2 separate regions of the Homo sapiens genome follow, and region 2 is linked to region 1. The links are contacts of gene promoters, found by promoter capture Hi-C in human tissues and cell types (Jung and others, 2019). All regions are on one chromosome and are shown on one strand. The core of a region is centred on a gene start or on the middle of the fragment in contact, and the rest is flanking DNA. Distances in the headings are between cores, read along the strand shown.

What was found. The method cuts DNA at HindIII sites, captures the fragments that hold promoters and counts their contacts. A contact is called where the count stands out against the background at its distance.
Region 2: a contact is called between a fragment that was not itself captured here and the fragment with the promoter of NCOR2 in region 1, in 2 of the 25 tissues and cell types used here (H1 embryonic stem cells and dorsolateral prefrontal cortex).

Annotation. Positions count from the first base shown.
Region 1 is chr12:124,565,103-124,571,908 of GRCh38, reverse strand. NCOR2 (nuclear receptor corepressor 2) reads left to right here and starts at 4,297. Exons shown (of 49, transcript NM_006312.6): 1 at 4,297-4,601. RefSeq lists enhancers at 1,984-2,844, 2,845-3,705, 3,872-3,921 and silencers at 4,042-4,291, 4,402-4,761, 4,782-4,891, 5,032-5,251, 5,452-5,551. The HindIII fragment of the contact is 12,918 bases long and covers 1-6,806 here.
Region 2 is chr12:124,434,133-124,441,380 of GRCh38, reverse strand. NCOR2 (nuclear receptor corepressor 2) reads left to right here. Exons shown (of 49, transcript NM_006312.6): 10 at 3,385-3,451. Among named protein-coding and RNA genes, the nearest start is that of MIR6880, 100 kb to the right of the region's middle. RefSeq lists enhancers at 480-1,200, 1,201-1,920, 2,795-2,894. The HindIII fragment of the contact is 9,749 bases long and covers 1-6,944 here.

The sequences.
Region 1 (6,806 bases), core at 3,048-5,547:
TTTCTACACAGACACAGTTCTAGGTGTGCGTGTGAGGCTTGGCTCCAGGGATGCTCACTTGGGTGTCTATTGGGTTGTTACTGATAGATAGTGTGACATAGGCCCCTTGGGTGCGATCCAGTGGCTAGTCCAGGGCTCCTGGGGTAGCCAGGGTCAAAGCTGCTCAGGGCACCATGTCCCCCAGCATGAGTCCTCACCCTATAGATGCCTTGTTCCTCCAGGCCCACCTTGAAGGTGGGGAATTTTTTCCAGGAGTGGCTGGAATTTGATCTGATACCATGGTTGACCATGTGAACTTGATTAGCCTGAATGGGCATCACTTGGGTGTCAGGCTAACAAATAAAACTTTTTTTTTTTTGTTTTTTTTGATGGAGTCTCACTCTGTTGCCCAGGCTGGAGTGCAGAGGCATGATCTTGGCTCACCGCAACCTCCGCCTCCAGGGTTCAAGCAATTCTCCTGCCTCAGCCTCCGGAGTAGCTGGGATTACAGGCATGCATCACCACACCCGGCTAATTTTTGTATTTTTAGTAGAGATGGGGTTTTACCATGTTGGCCAGGCTGGTCTCCAACTCCTGACCTCAGGTGATTTGCCCGCCTTGGCCTCCCAAAGTGCTGGGATTACACCATGAGCCACTGCGCCTGGCCCAAATAAAACATATTTTAGAGACAGGGTCTTGCTCTGTCATCCAGGCTGGAGTGCAATGGTGTGATCACAGCTCACTGCAACCTCAAGCTCCTGGGAGTCCCATCTACCCAGAGGTTGGGACCAGTGGAAAGGTAAAGGCTTCATCCTAAAATATGCCCAAGGAGCAAGTGCTGGAAAACACAGATACAGGATCAGCCATTCCCACTTGTTTCTAGATTTTTCCAGGGTCAACACCTGCCTCCTTCCCCCTCTGTTGGTGCATTCATTCATTCATGTGTTAATTCAGTCGCAACACATTTGAATTGAGTGCCCACTATGTGCTGAGGATACAGCAGTGAGCTGGCCAGAAAGGTCTTTGCTCTCATGGAACTGACATTCTGGTGACCAAAGACAATATATATCAGTGACAAATGCCCAGGATAGTTTCAGGTGGTGATAAATGGTGACAAAAATGAATAGGATGTTGAGTTAGTGAGGGCCTTGGCGGTTTCTTCAGATACAGGGTCAGTGAGGGACTCTCTCTCTTTATTTATTTATTTTTTGAGACAGAGTTTCGCTCTTTTTGCCCAGGCTGGAGTGCAATGGCATGATCTCAGCTCACTGCAACCTCTGCCTCCTGGGTTCAAGCGATTCTCCTGCCTCAGCCTCCCGAGTAGCTGGGATTACAGGCATGTGCCACCACACCTGGCTGATTTTGTATTTTTGGTAGAGACAGGGTTTCTCCATTTTGGTCAAGCTGGTCTCGAACTCCCGACCTCAGGTGATCCACCCACCTCGGCCTCCCAAAGTGCTGAGATTACAGGCATGAGCCACTGCACCCTGCTGCAAGGGACTCTCTAAGGAGCTGGGACCTGAAGATAGAAGATGACAGTCTCAGGCAGACGGAACAGCAAGTGCAAAGGTGTTGAGGCGGGGATGAGCTGGACTATTTTGCCAAGTACTTAGAAAGGAATGGTTGAAGGATTGGAGGGAGTCTTTAGGAAGGAATGGTTGAAGGATTGGGCCGGAGATGGTAGAGACAAAGCCCAAGGGGCAGAAATTGGCGCCAACTGGACGGGAGCCCCCTGGATATATATACAGCATGCTCCAGCCAGCTGCAGCCTGGCCTGGGACACATACAACATGCTTCCCAGTGTCCCTGGTGACTTCCCAACTGAGTCTCCCTCTCCCTTCCTGTAAAATGGGTATGTTGAAAGTCTTTCCCTCACAAAGGCAATTGAGATGTTTGGGAAGCTCTTAGCTGTTACTGTTACTAACTCACAGTCCAGGGGGCCCCCCCGGGAAGGCTGTTTGTGTGCAGTGTTCTTTGGCCGCTTTTTAAAGGTACTGTTCCCATTAGTTGCTCATGGACTGTCACTCAGAGCCCAGTAGAAACAAAGTAGCAAACTAGGGTGCCGGTCTGCGATTGGGGGAAGGGGCGGGCTCAGCTGAGACCTCCCCAGAGTCCAGATTTCCAGCACTCATTTGGAATCACGGGCTGCTGCTGGAGGCTGGCAAGTCGGGTTCTTCATCTCTCCAGGCCTGTTTCCCTACTTGGGACCAGGCCCCTTGCTTCCCCCAGGGTAAGTGCTCACTCAGTGCTGGTGTTACTCCCCGCCGTCTGTGAGGGTGAGATTAATAACCCAATTCAGCCAGGAAACAGGAGCAGACGGGAAAGGGCCAATCCCTTTCGGGATAAACGCTGCCCTTCTCCTGGCCTCAGTCTTGCCATCTGTGACATGGTCGGGCCAGAGGCCATTGGCGCTTGAGTTGATAAGGCTTCCAGTGAGGGATTTCTAGGTGACGCTTGGGACATTACAAAGCTGACAGACCCCCTGCTTTCCCCGCTCCTAAGCCTGCAGGGAGCCCTCGAGGGCAGAAGCTGGGAGACCCCTGAAGACACCCCAAATGTCCCTCCTCCAGCTTCAAATAGAGCTGAATCTCATGGAAATGCAAATTCCCAGAGGGTTTTCAGGTGACAGAGGAGGGCTGCCAGGCGGCCTGGGGCTGGCAGAGGAGCTCCCCCGCCCCCGCTTCCCTCTCCAAGACCCTTGGTGGGGGAGGTGGGGGATCAGGCCTTCCTTCTGCGGCTCCAGCTTTTTGCCTGTGGATTCGGACCGACTGGCTGGGCAGAACTGGAGCTGGTCGGGCCAAAACAAGGAGGTGGGGGGGGGGCACTGACCTATGACCCCTCCTGTTTCAGTCTGCAAACTGCTCCCCTCCACACCCACTTCCCTTTTGCCAGACATTGTCAGCCCCAGAGGCTCCCGCCAGCCCCCCAAAAGCTCATAATTAAAAGCCCGAGGGGGCAGAGAAGGACCTGGCTGCAGGGGAGCCCGGCAAACCCAGCATCCTGGCGGAGGCGGGAGGCCCGCCGGCCTCTGGAAACCACGCGGCTGCCTCCCCACCGCAGCCATTCCCCGCTCTCCCTGGGGGTTCTCAGATGTTGCCAGATGGCAGAACTGAATCTGCTGAGACGTCACTCCAAAAAAGGAAAGTTGAACTGAAAAAAAAAAAAAAAATTCAAACTCTCCAACATCTTAGGAGAAAGCAGAAGAGGAGGGAGGGAGGGAGGCTCCAGGCCCAGGGCTCCCAGTGCCCTCTGCTGTTCAAAGAGATCTGCCCTGGTTGGAGAGGGCAAACCTGGAGGGGGTGGGAGGAGGGGGTAAATGAGGACACTGGGTTGTCAGGGCGGCCAGGGGGGCCAGGTTCCTGCTGGAGCGGAGAGTGTCTGCCTGTGCGTGGGGGAGCGAGCACATGTGTGCCGTCTGTGACTGCGTGCTTGTGCAGGCCGGGCGTGTGTGGCTCCCAGGGTCACGCTTTGGGATGTGTGTGTCTGTGTGTGTGTGTGGGGGGGGCGGGGGGGACACAGGCTCGTTGCATTGTCTCCGCATTTGTGTCCCTGAATGTCCCCAAGTGGGACTTCACTCAACACATTCGTGAGTCCCTACTGCGATAGGGCAGTGAACAAAATAGAAATCTCTGCCCTCAGGAAACTGGCATTCTAGCGTCTGTGTCCTCCGGGGTGCTGTGAACTCGCGTGGGTGTCCCAGTATTTGTCTGTGTGAGATCTGACATCTCCGGTCCGTGGTGGGTGGTGAGTCTGCAGTGTGTTCGCCCGGGCTGGGTCTCGGGTCTGGGGAGGCCCAGCGTGTTCCTGCCTGGAGAGGGCTCTGCGCTACTGTCTGCTCCCGTCCCCAAGTGCCCCACTGGGCGTGCTCCTAAAAGGCCCTGTGTAGGGCCCTCCCTGCGCGCCCCCTCCCCATCCAGCGGCCACTCCAGAGTTATAATTTAATAGCTGAAACGCGATTCCAGTGAGGTACTGGGGCTGGAGAGGAGGAGGAGGGCCCCCGGGCCCGCAGGAGAAGAGGGAGGGGAAGGCTGGGAGGCGCTTCCCCCCTCCTTCCTCCTCGGGGAGCTGCCAAAAAGAAACTCGGCGTCGCGCCCAAGTGTGTGCGTGCGTGTCTGTGTGTGTGGCGGCGTGCGCGCGCGAGTGGGGACGCGCAGGGCCTGGAGAGAAGGCGCGGGCCCTTTAAGGAGCCAGAGGGGGCCGGGCCGGGGCGCGTCGCTGCGGGCGGGGAGCCGGGAGCAGGGAGGCCGAGCCACCGCCTCCCGGGCTCGCGCCCCGCCCCCTCCTCCCCCTCCCGCCGCCGCCGCCGCCGCCGCCGCCGCCACCGCCGCCGCGGCCGCCGGGGAGCGCGGAGCCGCGGGCAGGCCGGGCCGCACCGGAGCCCCGCGTCCGCCGGCGCCCCGCCCGAGCCCTGCGCCCGCGCCCTGCGCTCCGCGATGCGCGCCAACTTGCGGGCCGGGGACCCAGGGCCGGCGCCCTAGGAGGCGGCGGCGGGAGGATCGCGTCCCGACCCGAGGCCGGGCCTGCTGCGCGCCCCCAGCCCGATCGGCACCGCCACTTGCCTGAGCGCCCCGGCGGCCCGAGCGCGCCCCAAGCCCGGGCGCCACCGCTGCCACCTCCGCGAGGTGAGTTGGGGCCGAGGGTCCCCGCGAAGGGCGGGGGGAGGCGCGGAGCGCGCTTCCGGGGGATCCGGGGAGGATCGGGCGGCGCACGCGGCGGAGTTGGCGGGGCCCCTGCACTCCCGAGTTGGCGCTCTCGGGGGGTGGCCTGCTGGGGAGCAAGGCGCCCCGCCGACACTGCGGCCCGCGTGCTCGGGGGCGCCGGGGAACTTAGGGGAACTCCAGCTCCCTAGCGAGGGGGCGGGAAGGAGGGAAGTGGCGTTGGGGTGGGCGGGGGGCGCGCTGGAAATGCACAGAGCGGCCCCCCACAGTGTGCGCCGGCTCTGGGGACTTGGCCGCCAGGCGTCCCTTGTACCCGGTGTAGCCCCGGACCTGGCGGGGCGACACTGCGCCTTATTTTCCATCGGGCAGCGCGGGTTTGAAAGCCCTTGGAGATGGTACCCCTAGCTCCCTGGCCTGGCTGTTGTGGAGGGGCGCATGAGGGTCTCTCACCAGCCGAGGGGGAGAGCCAGCCTTGTCCCTCCTAGGCGTGGGGCCACGGGGCGCTGGGCGGGGTCCCTCGGGAGAGTCGCCCCTGGTCCCCCTCCCCCGCGGGCCGGTGTTCCTGGTGTCTGGGCCTGCCTCCCGTGGCTGGTGACGCCTCATTGGGCCGCCTCCTAGTCCCTCCCCCGGGCTGTGCGGATACTTGGGATGCCACTACTTTGCGAAGTTGGAATTCAGAGCTGATCCCACTTGGGCACGACTGGGAAGACCCAGACCCTTGTCTAGAGGGCAGCTTCCTCAGAGGCCTGCGGGGAGTGAGGGCACCCGTGGGGTACGCCCTCCCCGCCCCAGACACTTGCAGGAGGAGCAAGCCGAGGGCGGGAGGGCACGGCGGGCGGGAGGGAGAGACAGGCTGTACCTGGGAGCTGCTGTCGCCCGGGCCCAATTAGCGTGGGGCGCCCGGCGTTATTTTTACATTGTAGGTTTATTTTTTTGGAAGCGAGTGTCCTCCCGCCGCCTGTCGCGCGCTCCGGCTCTCCGAGGGTCTGGTGCAGGCAGCGGGGGCGGATCTGTTCTGTCGGCTCAGCCTCCTCCCTTCCTCCCCCTCCTCCTCTCCCCCGTTGGTGAGAACTGGTTTTATTGTGATTATTATTATTTTTCCCTTTTTGCAGATTTGGAGGAAGGATGTGTGAGGGAGGGAAGAGGGGAGGAGGGGATAAGGGGAGGACCCTGTGGGCGGGGTGGGGGAGTTCTGGGCGCGTTGGGATGTGTTACCGGTGGCCTTGACTTTGCCCCTTTTCAGCCAGATCTGGGTCCTTGCGGCAGCTTTGATATAAGGGGCTCTCCGGGCCAGACTGCGCCGGGAGGGCGACCCGGGGCAGGCTGTGTACCTCGTGGGTGGCCTCTTTGGGGGTGCTGAGGAGGGGCCGAGAAATGGCAAGCAGCAGTGAGGTGGGATGGCCCACTCTGCACCTCAGCTCCTGGGGTTTGACTCTGACCTTTGCCACTTTCCTGGCAGTGTGACCCTGGACAGATGCTTAACTTCTCTGTGCCTGTCAGGTTTCCCATCTGCAAAATGAGGGTCAAAATGGTACTGAGTTCACAGAGTGGTTGTGAGAGCTGACCGTCCGGCCATAAGAATCCCTTGGTACTTGTATGTGTTACTATGACTACTGTGTCGGTATTATTATTCCTGGGTTCTAAGATTGGGCCTTTAATCCAACGTGGTCTGGAAGCCCTGTGAAAAGGGGCCACCTTACCTTTGGCTGGGGGTGGACAGTGGGGGGATCTGGGGGAGGGAGGGGGCCTTTTCCCACTCCCCTCTGCTTGTCCGGAGAGGATGGAGAAGGGCAGGTGCCCCCGCCCATTGAACAGATGCAAAGACTGAGTCAGGCCCAGCAGAGCAATGAAGGGGGGGTGGAGCCAGCGGTGACTGGCGAGTCGGCAGCGCGGCTGCCAGGGCATCCCGGGCTCTGTCTGGCTTCCCTGAGCCGCCTGCCGTGTCCCTGCTTGGAAATTCACTGCTGCCACCGCCAGCGGGTGCCGGGGGAGTCTGTGGTGCCGGTGCCCAGACATGGGGGCGGGAGCGCAGCAGGCCCCAGCCCTGGCCTCTTCCCACTGAGCTATTTACGCTGCTGGGGATCAATACTATTGATAAATCCATGTAAATGGTAATGTGGCTGTCAGGCCCTGGTGAGGGATGGAGACCCCTCCTGGGGCTGCGCTCTC
Region 2 (7,248 bases), core at 821-3,320, 130 kb after region 1:
CCTGGGACGCTAATCTAGTCCCAGGGTTATTTCTGTTGTCACTCACATTGTTCCAGCTCTGGCAGCCGGAAACCTTCAGGCTGGGTTCTGTGTCCTTTTGACTTTTGTTTTCTTTTGTTTTTGGCAATTCTTGACTTAAAGTCACTCTGGGCTCTTCTTGCATACTTCCTGGCCGAGCGCTGGAATCAGCCATGGCCCGGGCAGCGCGGTTTCTGGGATTGGAGGATGGTCTTTGCTGAGATATGGGTGCTGCTGTGCTCATGGCGCCTGGGCCTTCACTGCTTCTAGGCCTTCACAGCTGTCTTTTGCATAAAAGACCAAACCCTTTGCCATGTCGAAACTCACAGGACCCTGCAGGACTGGCCCTGCCAGTCTTGCTCACAGCCCCTCCTCCGTCCTCTCTGCCCCTCCCCAGCACTGTCCAGCCACAGGGCCTTCCTCTGTCTGTGCTTCCGATACACAGAGTTTGTTCCTGTCTCCTGCGGTGCCCTCCAGCTGGAGTTCCCTTCCTTCTGGATCTTCCCAGAGCCGGGTCCTTCTGATGACGTAGATCCCAGCTCAAGGCCATCCTCTCTGGGAGATCTTTCTGCACCACGGAATCTAAAATAGCCCCTCACACCCCGTCCCCCAGCACCCACTAGCCCACCATTCCATTTAAGTTCCCAAATCCAGGATTATCTTGGTCATCTTGCTTATTGTCAGTGTCACCTCTGTGAGAGCCCTCAACTGTGTCTTGCTCCCTGCTGTGTCCCCAGCACCTGGAACAGTGCCTGGCACATAGTAGATGCTCAGTAAACAGTTATTGAATAACAGAAGATGAGGCTGCGATGCCATAGATTTCAGATGAGGAAACTGAGGGCTTCTGAGGTGTGCTCAGAGACACCCTGTTATGAGATGAAGGGTGCTGGTCCTAGCCTGTGGGACTGAGGACCCCCATGGCCCACCCTGGCCGGGGGGCGGCGGCCAGACTGATGGAAGGTGGGGAGGCCCTGGCCAAGTCACCACCAGAATGACCCGGGGACTGAGGTGGATTCCAGGCCCTTGAGCCCCATGAGGCTTCACTCGTCCGTCAGAGCCTGGGGTTCCCTCCTTTTCCTGTTTCCAATGGGGCTGGGGTCCCGGGGGCTGGACATAGCGTGGCTCCCAGTCAGTAGCTTTGGAACTTTTGAGGGGGTTTGGACACTGCTGAGAATATGAAAAAGTTGGGGATCCCCTCCCCAGAAAAGCGGGTGCCACTGAATGCCGCGGATTGGGGACAGACAGCAAGTTAAGGTGCACAGCAGGCTCCTGAGGTCGCTGTGGCCCCCCAGGCCCTGGGAGGCCAGCTGCAGCACCCTGCTTTGTGTGTTGGAGACCGTGGGGAGGGGCCTGGGAAGAGAAGAGGACGGTCCTGGGGTCTCGGTGCAGCAGTGGGTGGGGGTGTCTTCCAGCCCTCATGGCGTGGGCTCCAGAACCTCCCGCCTCTACTCTCCAGGGCTCCCTCCCTTTGCCTGTCTCAGGGTCCCTGTCCCCTTTCTTCGGGTCTTGTCTCTTTCCCTCTCCCCACTTCTCTCTCTTTCCCTCTCCTAGTTTCATCTTCCTCTGAGTCTCTGTCCCCTTCCTTTGGATCTTGTCTCTCTGTGACTGCCTCTCTCTCTCTCTCTGATCCTCTCTTTCTCATCTCTCTCACTCCAGTCTCACCTCTCAGTCTCATCTCCTGTCCATCTCCAGGTCTCTGTCCTTTCTTGGATCTCATCTGTCTATCTATCTCCGTCTCTGTGTCTCCCCTTCTCCCAGTCTCTGTCTCTTTCTCACCTCTGTCTCCCTGTCTGTCTCCCTCTCTCTGGGTCCCTGTTTCCCTCTCTGGGTCTCTGTCTCCGTCTCTCTCTCTCTGGGTCTCTGTTTCCCTCTTTCTCTGGGTCTCTGTCTCCCTCTCTCTGGGTCCCTGTTTCCCTCTCTGGGTCTCTGTCTCTCTCTCTCTCTCTCTGGGTCTCTGTCTCCCTCTGTCTCTGGGTCTCTGTCTCCCTCTGTCTCCGGGTCTCTGTCTCCCTCTCTCTCTGGGTCTCTGTCTCTCCCTCTGTCTCTGGGTCTCTGTCTCTCTCTCTCTGGGTCTCTCTCTCCCTCTGTCTCAGGGTCTCCATCTCTCTCTCTCTGGGTCTCTGTCTCCCTCTGTCTCTGGGTCTCTGTCTCCCTCTGTCTCTGGGTCTCCGTCTCTCTCTCTCTGGGTCTCTGTTTCCCTCTCTCTGGGTTTCTGTCTCCCTCTGTCTCTGGGTCTCTGTCTCTGGGTCTCTGTCTCTCCCTCTGTCTCTGGGTCTCTGTTTCTCTCTCTGGGTCTCTGTCTCCCTCTGTCTCAGGGTCTCCATCTCTCTCTCTCTGGGTCTCTGTCTCCCTCTGTCTCAGGGTCTCCATCTCTCTCTCTCTGGGTCTCTGTCTCCCTCTGTCTCTGGGTCTCTCTCTCCCTCTGTCTCTGGGTCTCCGTCTCTCTCTCTCTGGGTCTCTGTCTCCCTCTCTCTGGGTCTCTGTCTTCCTCTGTCTCTGGGTCTCTGTCTCCCTCTGTCTCTGGGTCTCTGTCTCCCTCTCTCTGGGTCTCCGTCTCTCTCTCTCTCTCTCTCTCTCTCTCTCTGTCTCTCTGGGTCTCTGTCTCTCTCTCTCTCTCTGGTTCTCTGTTTCCCTGTCTCTCTGGGTCTCTGTCTCCCTCTCTTTCTGGGTCTCTGTCTCCCTCTCTCTCTCTGAAACTCCCGTCTCCCAGGACGTGCCTCCTTCTCTTGGAGCCTGCAGTGGTGTGTGTAACCTGCTTGGTTGAGACCCCATGGGCCCTGCCCTGAAGTCTGAGACCGCCCCCGCCCGGGGGTTTCCTGAAGTCCATGCCTGGTGGCCCCACCAGCTGCCCCACACTGCTTGTGTCCCTCCCCCCGCAGCAGGACTGGGTGTGCTGGAGGTCCATGCACAGCACCTGGTTGGAGCCAATCCTGGGGCCACACAGGCCACACTCTGACACCCGGCCTGTGGGCGGCAGCAGGTCTCGGGGTCTCGGGCTCTGTGGCCTGTATTCCTAGTTGGAGGCTGTGGCTGTTTCTCCGTGGCCATCTTTCCGTGGGCAGATGTGGCTGCCGGGGTGCATGTGGGCGGGGGCGGGAAGCCACAGGCCCCTCGGCTCTGGGAACCCTCTTGCCTGCACACTGGGCTCAACCTAAACGTTGGCGGGGGCTGCCTCGCGCGCGGGGGAGTAAGGATGCACGTTGGCAGCTCACAGGTCTCTCTGGGGATACAGCACGGGTGGGTCTCATCTCCCTGAGAACCAATAACGGGGCAAATTTGGGGCTCACTCTCAGCAAACAGGATGGCACGGGGTGCAGCGCCTGAGCCCGGCCGGGCTGACCTGTCTGCCGCTTCCCTCCTGCACAGAAACCAGGCGATGCGGAAGAAGCTAATCTTGTACTTCAAGAGGAGGAATCACGCTCGGAAACAATGGGTAAGTCCACACCGTGGCCCCCATCAGCTTTCCTTGAGATCTGGGGAGAATCGAGCGCACAGGGGGCCACACCTGCCGGGGCCCTGTCAGTTCCGCAGCTGTGTCCTCCCTGAGTGTCCAGGCTGCGGAGGAAAAGCCAAGGCCGGCCAGGAAAGGAGGAAAGACAACAGCTGCTTCCAGAAGGCCCCAGGGTGGGTGGGGGTGGGGGGGCTCTATGGCCCCTCTTCCAGCCTGGAAGGGAAGAAAGCAAAATGTTGGCCTGGAAAATTAGTTGCTAAGCCCTGGTCACGGGACCTGTCCTGGGCTTTTCAGGCAGAAAGAGAGGTTTTGGAGAGAGGTGGAGGATCAGGGTGGGCTGTGTGCCGGGCAGCAGGGGCCGCAGGCGCACCCTTACAAATGAGCCTTTCCTGGTGCACTGGGCCCAGGTCCAGGCTCAGGGAAACTGAGACAGTGGACAAGCATTGAGCCCCCTTTCCCTGAGCCTGCATTTGTGGCCAGTGGCCTCATCCAAACAGAAAAGGATGCTGATTCCTGCTTCTCACTGTAGGCTGTGGATCTCAGCCCACGGCGGGGAGGCTGGGTCTGCCAGAGGCATGTGGTGGTGGTTTCAGGCGGCCGTGGCCATCACCCATTCCCCGGAGGAGATCAGGGTTGAGTATTCTCCCAGCTGTCAGGGGAAGAAGCGCGGACTCAGATGGGCTTCAACAGGAAAGGAATGGCTGTAGCTGGAAATGTCTGTTGGGTGTAGATGGCAGGAATAGTCTTTCAACTCAAGTCTTGCCTTCATTTCATTTCATTACATTTCATTTCATTTTATTTGTTTATTTATTTATTATTTATTTTTGAGATGGAGTTTCGCTCTGTCACCCAGGTTGGAGTGCAGTGGCAGGGTCTCTACTCACTGCAGCCTCCGCCTCTCGGGTTCAAGCAATTCTCCTGCCTCAGCCTCCCAAGTAGCTGGGATTACAGGCGCCCGCCACCAAGCCCGGCTAATTTTTGTATTTTTAGTAGAGAAGGTTTCACTCCATTGACCAGGCTGGTCTTGAACTCCCGACCTCAGGTGATGCACCCGCCTCGGCCTCCCAAAGCGCTGGGATCACAGGTGTGAGCACTGCACCCAGCCCCTTCATTCCTGTGCAGTTTTTTCAACTCCTTATGTTAGAACATTGACAAACTGAACCTGAATTCCCATAGCAGGTGGGAGCCGGAGAGAGCTGTGCTTTCTCGGATGGTATCACAGATGCTCTGATTAGGCCAGGAGAGGGCCTGCGTCCTGTGAACCAGTGGCTGATGCCGGGGAGATGGAGTGAGGCTGCCTGGTTTTGGCTCATGGGACTTTCTCTACAGTTGGGGATGATGTCATTGACTCCACCCAAGCCACGGGGCTGCTGGGACATGGTAGGGAATGGGATAAGGCTGGGGAGGCCCTGAAAAGGTCCCCACCTGGGGAAGAGGCGGGCTGGATGGGGACTGCTGCCTTGGGATTCTTGGATAAGAGACGCGGCAAGGGCTGGGAACTAGGTTTGCTGGAGGCTGGAGGGGCTCCCCTCATACCTGCAGCCCCCTGCCCCACCTCCTCTCTCCCTCAGCTGTGTTGAGGCAGGGCCTGCGAGGCAGCTCCCTGTATCCTTTCTGGGCCTCCAGAGAGGCCCTCCCAGGCGCAGGCCTGGCTCAGTCATGCCCAGCGCCTGTAGGTCTGTGGTACACAGTAGGTGATGACCAAGTCCTGCTTGAACTGAAATGGGCCGGGACAGGGTGTTAGCTGATCCAGTGCCTTTGGGGCCTGGATGCCAGTAGTCACGGAGCACCTACTGTGTGTGAGGCTCGCAGTTGCTGTGACACGGGCCCTGTCCTCAGACCTGCAGGCTGCAGGGACAGGTCGTGCGTAAGGACGAGGAGGATGCCCGCACACCCTGCCCTTCCGGTGCCTGTTGTGTTGCAGGCGCTCTTCTGAGTGCTCTCCATACATTAGGGCATTTAGTCCTGCGAGGTGGGCGCTTGGTCAGCCACATGTTTCAGAGGAGGAAATCGAGGCACAGAGAGGTTAAGTAACTTGCCCTAGGTCACACAGCTGGGAAGTGGTGGAGCTGAGATTTGAACCCAGACCACCTGGTTCCTGAGCCCATGCTCTGAACCCCCAAGGGGCAGTTCCGAGAGAGTCCAGGAGGGTGTGTGGGGTATGGTGGTGTGGTGAGCGGCCACATGGTGGGGCTGAGCAGTGCCTGGGGAGGGGGACCCTGGGCAGGCATGGGGTCCTGGGCAGGTGTGTGGGCACGTGGGGCCAGGTGAGGGGCTTAGCTGGGGCAGGAGGTCCTGGCTTTGGAAGGAGGGGCTGTGCTATATGGGAGGAGGGTCTTCCCTTGGCCCTGCCTGCCTGCTCTGGCCCCGAACTTGGTTGGGTACTAGAGGGAGGAGACACTTCCAGCCAGATGCTGGTGCCTGGGAAGCTGCGGGCAGCCCTCGGGACCCAAGCCCTGCTCATAGGTGAGGAGAGGTGGGCTGCCCAGCAGTGCCTTGCCCAGCTTCCTCAGATCCCCCACCTTGACTGGATGGTGCCCACAGGCACTTGGGCTGGTGCGAGAGGCTCTTGAAACGAGCGTCCAATCTGTTTATCAAGTTAAGAGATACCCACACAGGGCTGCTGGGTGCCCGGGAGTCACAGGCCAGGAAACAGACCGGTAATCTGGGGAGAAGAGCTGCACAGAGGGCTAGACTCTCGAGATGGGCTGGGGACCTCAGTGCTGAGGTGGGAATGACCAGAAAGGACTGGCTTTGTGCGGATCTGGGAGTCAGGGTGTCAGGCAGAGGGCATAGCAAGTGCAGAGGCCCTGAGGCAGGAACCAGCTTGGGACAGAACCTGGCAGGCCAGCAGCAGGAGCCAGGTCGCGTGGAAACATCTGCCCTCAGGCTAGGATGGAACATTCAGGTTTTATTCCGAATGCAGTGGGACACCGAATTTATTCTTAATACATGTATTTGTAGTAAAGAATCCAAAGTCCTTATTCTAAGAAATTTGACAGAAGAGTACAAGGCACATCTATATACCCACCACCTAGAATCAGCCACGGTTACCATTGCCTTGTATTTGCTCTGTGTGTATAACATGTTTGTTGTTGCACTATTGGAAAATAGGTGCAGAGGTGCCGACCTTCACCCCTAATAAATACTCCCCCTCTGTCTCCTGCGAGGAAGGAAATCCTCTCATTTTCACCTAAAATGACTGCCAATTCAGCGCGATCTTGCCGCCTCCTTGACAGCCCCCCATGGTTCCCCCCTTGGGGTGAAGGCTCCTCTCGGGAGGGCAGGAGAGGATCTGATTTCCATTTAAAAGGATCGCTGCAGCTGCTGGAAGGAGCTCAGGCTGGAGGTGGAGTTGGGGTGGGCTTGAGTTCTTTAAAGATCGCCAGTGGCTCCTTGGGGGGTCTGTGGAGGGGGTGGAGGGAGAAATTGGCTTATTTAAAGCTAGAGAAGAGGCAGGCAGAAACCAAGGACTTCCAAGAAGGGTCCGGTGTGGCTTTGTGGCCCATCTTAGGAGGGATGGAAACAAATTCAACACCCCCTGAAGCTGCGGTGGCGATTGGGATGGTCTCTTTGTTGTGGTATAAGAAGCCGAAGTCCCTGACTTCATTGATTTCAGTAAGGCCTGGGGAGGGGGGCTTGGCCGAGAACTCTGATGTGCCTGCCTCACCCCCACTGGGGAGTCAGACCCCCCTCAGACCCTGGGACCCCCACACCTTAGCAGGTTCCTGGGGACCCCCATACCTCTTCCCAGAGAGCAGGGCCTCGTCCCTGTCATG